Linked DNA regions of Homo sapiens: region 2 is linked to region 1. The links are contacts of gene promoters, found by promoter capture Hi-C in human tissues and cell types (Jung and others, 2019). All regions are on one chromosome and are shown on one strand. The core of a region is centred on a gene start or on the middle of the fragment in contact, and the rest is flanking DNA. Distances in the headings are between cores, read along the strand shown.

Region 1 (3,161 bases), core at 374-2,873:
TTCGGTGTTCGTGAGCATAGAGCACGCCAGCTCCTGCTGCACAGAAACCTTTCTGACTCTCTGGAACAACTCGCTCCCCTCGGAAGTGACTCACCTGAACCCGCACCTGCTCTACTACGTTCAACTCCTCTAGCGTCAGTGGATGCTCCGGGTCATTGATGGAGCGAATCAGATGTGGGAAGTGAAGGAAAAGGGACTCTGCGCCCTTGCCCACTTAGAACCCTCTGCCAGGAACGCCCTGCTGGGATGCGGCTCCACCAGCTGCTCGATATCACTGCTCCCCCCACCGCAAGCCCCCGGAACCCGCCCGCGCCCAGCAGCGGCGGATATCGAAGATCTCGCGTGCGTCGATGCTGTCGGGAACCTGCTCGTCCTCCTCGCCTGCCGTCACAGGCCGCTCCCCAGAGCGCTGGTAGATGAGGGGGTTGGCATTCTCCAGGAGGCCGCCGCCGACCCCGCCGCCGCCTACCATCGCGGAACCACCACCGCTGATCCTAGCAGGCGTGCGCTTCCGCTCCAACCCGCGCACTTCCGGAGAACGGGAAGGGGGCGTGGCGTGGCGACGGAGTCGCGCGAGGGACACGCCGCGTTGTGGGTTCTCGGCCTGAGGTGCGAGAGAAGCGGTGACCGCGGCCCTGGCTGCTCGGACCCGGGAACATGATGGTCGCTGGAGCAGAAGGCGCTGAGAAGGGACCACGGCGGCGCTGGGTCGTGCGAGCCAGTAGCGGGCTGAAACGTAGAGGCCAGAACCAGGTCTCAGGGGGCACTAAAGGCGGTCGGAGGTAATCCCCACACCGCTTCCTCCTGGAAGTCAGGCTGGCCGGGAGCTCCCGTATCCAGGACGGTTGGTCGCCTCTGGCCTGGCAGGGATCCTAGTGTCTCGGGACCTCCCGGTGACGCGCCTGCCTCCCCTGCTGCACCATAGGCCCGGGAGTACGGCGTCCCCACAGCTTGGACCGGCAGGGGCTCGTGAAATGTTTGTCAAGTGGATAAATGACCATGGCCGTGGTCTCCGCGGGAGGTGAGGAAACTGAAAGCCACCGAGGAAAAGGGGGGCGCTCCTTAAGAAGTGCCGCGGTCACGTGTACGTTTCAAAAGAATGGCGTGACTGAGTAGGGAGGGGACCGCGGAGACCCTCAGACCCTGGACTGTAAGGAGATGAGGGGCCGTGAAGGGGAACCCAGGAAACTGAGTCCTGAAAGCAAGGAGGAACTTCCAGAATGAAGGGCGCCGACACTCCTTCCTGCCTTTGCTCAAGCGGTTCCTTCACCCCGATCAAGTTCCTTCCCATTTCTCCATCTGGGGGATCCTGAACGTGCACATCCTCAGAGAAGCCCTCCTGGGGTCTCCAATTCTAGTTTATTGCCCCCTCCTATCGATCCCCCAGCGCGCTCATCGGGCCTGTGGACAAGGACAGGTTTGAAGAGAGGATTCCCTGGATCGCGGAAGGGCTGCAGGAATGGCACAGCCCCTTCCGAGGATGCCAAAGGAGCCCGGGCAAAGGAAAGTGGCCGTGCCCGGGCCTGCCTACCACTAGATCCCCACCCACCTATGACTGCTCAGTCCCGCTCTCCTACCACACCCACCTTTCCCGGCCCAAGCCAGCGCACCCCGCTGACTCCCTGCCCAGTCCAAACTCCAAGGCTGGGCAAGGCACTGATCCACTGCTGGACAGACCCGGGGCAGCCTCTGGGTGAACAGCAGCGTGTCCGCCGGCAGCGAACCGAGACCAGCGAGCCGACCATGCGGCTGCACAGACTTCGTGCGCGGCTGAGCGCGGTGGCCTGTGGGCTTCTGCTGCTTCTTGTCCGGGGCCAGGGTGAGGCTCCCTCGGAGGGGCGACAGGGACCGGGCTCAGATCTGCCAAATGCTGCGGAGGCAGAACCTGACAGTGCGGGAGGGCAGGCGCCTGGGAGGTAGGAGCTGGTGGAGATGACAGCGTGGAACTCGTGAGCCCCACGCAACGCCTCCCCGCCGCCCAAGGTGGGCTCCTAGAAGCACAGAAAGGGTCGGGCTGGGGGACACCACGGCAAGGAACCAGCGGAGTACAGGGGCCCCAGGAGCGCCGGGACATGCCAGGCCGGGTAGGCAGCCTGGGGTCGGAGTGGGTGAGGGATTGGGGTGTGGGGATTCAGTCCATTTCCCTCTTATGATTGTGGCTGTAGCGGGTGCTGCCGGCCGGTAATAACAGTAATAGCTTCTGGCAGCATCTGGCTCTCAGTGTGTGGCGTCCTTGGCCAGGGGGGATGCCCTGAGCCCTCCAAAGGGGCCTCAGACAAGGATAGTGGTCCTTGGGGAACAGAAGCCCCCAGGCGCCAAATCCTAAAGCAGATCTAAGAGGCCACAGTGGCTGGGTGCGATTGGCTCACTCCTTTAATCCCACCACTTTAGAAGGCCAAGGGAGAGTATCGCTTGTGCCCAGGAGTTGGAGGCCAGCCTGGACAACATAGTGAGACTCGGAGTGTACAAAAAATTGAAAGAAATTAGTGGGCTGTGGTGGTCTGTGACCTGTAGTCCCAGCTACTTGGGAGGCTGAGGTGGGAGATCACTTTAGTAGGGGAGGTTGAGGCTGCAGTGAGCCTTCATCCCACTACTGCACTCCAGCCTGGGTGAAAAAGCAAAAATCTGTCTCCAGAAACAAGAACCAAAGAGCTCGTGGTGTCCCTCATGCCATTTACCTCATCCTGGGCAAGGGCACAACTTGGCTTCCAGGGCAAAGGTGAAGGCTCTGTGTGCCTGCCAGGCTTCTCCAGGCCCTTATCAGAAGCTGGGGGAGTGTTTCGGCCTTTGGTCCTCTCACCCGAAACTCTCCTAAGTGTATGATCTGTCTCTTCCAACCCTTCCCCAATTTAATTTGCGCAGGTGGAGTCCATACTCCCCCCGCCCCATGGTGCACTGCTGCAGGGCTTCCTCCCGTGCCTGCCCTTGACCACATTCTAGAGTTCACCAGGAGCCCAGCAGGAAGATCTGCCTGGCCTCACAGATGGCTACCTTTTAAAATATTTTGGGCCAGGCACAGTGGCTCACACCTGTTATCCCAGCACTTTGAGAGGCAGAGATGGGAGGATCACTTGAGGCTAGGAGTTAGAGACCAGCTTGGGCAACAAGACTTGTCTCTACCAAAAAAAAAAAAAAAAAAAGTCAAGCATGGTGGCAGACAG
Region 2 (3,121 bases), core at 80-2,579, 1.3 Mb after region 1:
CAGAGCAAGGCAACCCAGCTCTCCTCCAGCAAACTCCCCAAGTGAAGGGCCGGGAGCCCTTCTGGAACAGACAAGGAATCATCATCGTGGTGCCTCCTCATCAGGAACCACAAGAGTTGTTGGAAGATGAAAGAACGTGAGTGTATAAAAAGGACTTACACTAATTACACTCAAGAGTCAGACATAGAATGAGCGCCGTAGTGAAGATAAGGAAAAGAAAACAGCAATGGAAACCACCTCCCACTTCAGCTAGGGCAGGAGGCACCCCAGGCCTTTGCACTCAGCAGGCAGATAGTCCCCCAGGCCAGGCCGGGACAGCGCCCACGCCTGGCCAGCCGGCCGGGACAGGCCTAGACGAGCAGTTTACACCTGGCGGCGTCTACCTCTAGGGCCGACACCGCCCTACGCCTCCGCTCCAGCAGCTCCCAAGCAGGCCGAAGACGCGGGCCGCAAGGACAGGTGACCTATATGGGCCCCTCGACCCCTTTCGCTTCCGGCTGCGGCTCAGGGAGACCTGACCCAGCAGGTCTCCCAAAGGCGTCTCGGCCTCGCTCCCCGGGCGGGAACTGGGGATGGATCCCAAAGCCTGCGTCCCGATCCCTTCGGTAGGAGTAGGTTCCTGCAATGGTTGAAAAGTAAGGAGCCCAGGGGAATGGCTGGCACGCGCGGATGAAAGGGGCACGCACACGCGAGAGTCGCTCAAAGTTTCAAACAAGAGCCCAGTCCTGCCGCCTGGACCGGTTGGTTGCGGCACGCCAGGCCTAGCCTCCGGCCGCCAATCCCGCCCAGAAATGTCCTCACGTCCAGGCCATGCCGCCACCCACCCCGGCGCTCACCTGCTGCAGCACCTTGTCCAGCGGCTCTGCCCGCGCCAGGCTGTCGGCGCTCAGGCCGCTCGCCTCGCGGCACTGCGTACTCAGTGCGGCCGCCTCGGCACGAACCAGCGATTTGTGCAGCGTCCCCACCTGTGAGCGGCGGGGGAAACCGATCAGCCGCGCCCCTCGACCCCGGAAGCTCCCTGGGGACCTCACCGCCTCTTTTCCACCCTACCTGGCGGCTCCGCGGCTCAACCACTTGCCAAACTAGGAGGATTAAGTCGGTCTCGTCCGAGCCCAGGTCCCGTCCCAGCGCACCCGCCGTAGCCCCGAAGAGGACGACCAGTGATCCGGGCCAGGGGCAGGGGTCCGCGGCGGGGTCGGCCGCGGGGTCAGGGCCCGGGGGAGGGGGCGGCGGCGGCGGCGGAGTCATGGCCGCAGAGGAAGGGGGCTCTCGGCCAGACACGCGGACCGACGAGGCGCACGCACGCACCGACCGACCGCAGACGCGGATCAGCTTGGGCGGGACACCGTGTATCGGGGGCGGCACCTGCGGCCCGGCTGGCTCAGTGGGCGCTGCCAAGACCCGCCCGTGGCGCCCCGCGGGGCGGGGCGGCTACCGGCCCACGCCCTCTCCAGGCGAGTTACCTGCCGGCCCCGCCGGCCACGTGACCGGGGCGGCTCCGGGAACCTTGGGGGAGGGCCGCCAGAACTCAACCCAGGACGCAAGAGCTCACGCTCCCGGCCTGGGCGCACGCTTAGGATCCGGATTCCTACTTCCAGGGCTGGTCCTGCCTGATTTTGGGGGCTAACCCATTCTTCCGCTCTCCCCCCACTCTTCCCCAGGGGTCGTCAGGCCTCTGCAAAGGAGCGTGCAAGACAGAGGCCTTCTCCAGTATGGAAGTCACCAGGAGGCAGTCTAGGGGCTGTGGGGGTCAACACGGCAGGTCTGGGGTTGATGGAAGTCAAAGGGTCAAGGGGGCGGTGAGAGTTGCCGGGTATCACCCTGTAGGGGGATCACCAGAAGTCACCTGGGAAAGGGGAGGGCGGCGGGAACATCAGCGTTGTTAGAGCTGTGGGGTGGTCACCAGGGATCACAGGGAAGGGCTTGTCCACGCAGATGCTAGGGCCGAGCGCTAGCCTGGCACTGAGAAGTGCCAGAGCGCGGTCGTTGTGGGTTGGGAGTGGGCAGGCCTCAATGCTGGGGAAAGGAACCCCCCAAATCGCAGAGAGCTGCACCCTAGACGAGGCTGAGAGGGGTAGAACGGGCCTGGAGCCTCACTCCTACCCCACGTGTGGGGGCCTGCCTGCTTTCGTCCCTTTCTGGACGGTGGAGAAGCTGCCTGGAGATTGCGAGCGCTCTGGCCGATGGGGGGCTAGCGTTGAGCGTGTGTGCGCGCATGCGGGCTGCAGATCCTCCCTTTTCCATCCCGCACCTACAACCCAATTGACAGCCCCGCATTTGGGGCTCCCATTCCTCCCTTTGCCCAGTGGAGCTTGGTGAGGCTCCTTTATGGCGCGTTTCCCGGCCGTTCCTTACTTTCCCAAACTCTCCCAGGGAGGTGACTGAGAAACTGAATAAGTGACTGAGAAACTGAATAATCCAGCAGGAAGGAGGGGGCTCCAGCGTGGCGGGAACTGAGTCACGCGGTTGCCTAGCCCGACTCGAGACTGAGACGGGAGCCGCACCACGCGCTTTCGGACAAGGAGGGTGCTGCGGCCCGGCCCCTGGACAATGGAGAGAGCGGGGCACCCGGGCGCATCACCAGAGCTCATGCCCGGGAAAGGGGCGAGGCCCGGGGGGAGAGAGCTCAGCGTAGCTCCACTTGGCAGCTAAAGAAACAGGCGCCCGGGACGGAAATGACTCGCGCCCGGACACGGCGACAGGGAGAGCATGGGAAGTGCTTCCTTCGCCCGGCGGGTTCGAGCGAGTAGCACTTTACTTTCCCTACAGGTGGAGGCGGGCCTTGGTGCGCGGCTGTCCATCTCCGGACCGCCCACCCGGGCACTGGCCCATGCGTCTCCTCCCCCGGAAGCGGTAAGCGAATCAGGCGCGGGGGAAGGGAGAACGTTGCTCCTCGGGCCCCTCCTCCCGATAAGCCTGGAATGTCAAATATTTGTTCGCGGGGCGGGGCGCAACCGCGAGTAACGCTCCTCCCCCTCCCGCCCGGTAGGGCGCCTGCGCTTGGTGGAGGCGGCCCTTCCTCCGGCCACGCCCTTCCAGCCAACTCCCCTAAACCAGTGGCCCTAACCGCCGCATTCCTAAAGCTCCACAGAAGCACGTCGCTTCCTCCTTGGCTCCTGTC

Evidence for each region. Contacts are between HindIII fragments. The study calls those that stand out against the background at their distance.
Region 2: the fragment with the promoter of ESRP2 here is called in contact with the fragment with the promoter of CES2 in region 1 in 1 of the 25 tissues and cell types used here (spleen).

The regions. Positions count from the first base shown.
Region 1 is chr16:66,933,893-66,937,053 of GRCh38, forward strand. CES2 (carboxylesterase 2) reads left to right here and starts at 1,624. Exons shown (of 12, transcript NM_001365405.1): 1 at 1,624-1,819. The coding sequence starts at 1,744. It overlaps CIAO2B (cytosolic iron-sulfur assembly component 2B), which reads right to left and starts at 510. Exons shown (of 5, transcript NM_016062.4): 1 at 331-510; 2 at 95-174. The coding sequence starts at 472. RefSeq lists enhancers at 116-165, 196-395, 1,234-1,846. The HindIII fragment of the contact is 13,939 bases long and covers 1-3,161 here.
Region 2 is chr16:68,234,798-68,237,918 of GRCh38, forward strand. It overlaps ESRP2 (epithelial splicing regulatory protein 2), which reads right to left and starts at 1,330. Exons shown (of 15, transcript NM_024939.3): 1 at 1,051-1,330; 2 at 837-965. The coding sequence starts at 1,248. RefSeq lists silencers at 1,278-1,507, 2,818-2,907, 2,938-3,037 and enhancers at 1,529-2,117, 2,118-2,705, 2,706-3,121. The HindIII fragment of the contact is 21,026 bases long and covers 1-3,121 here.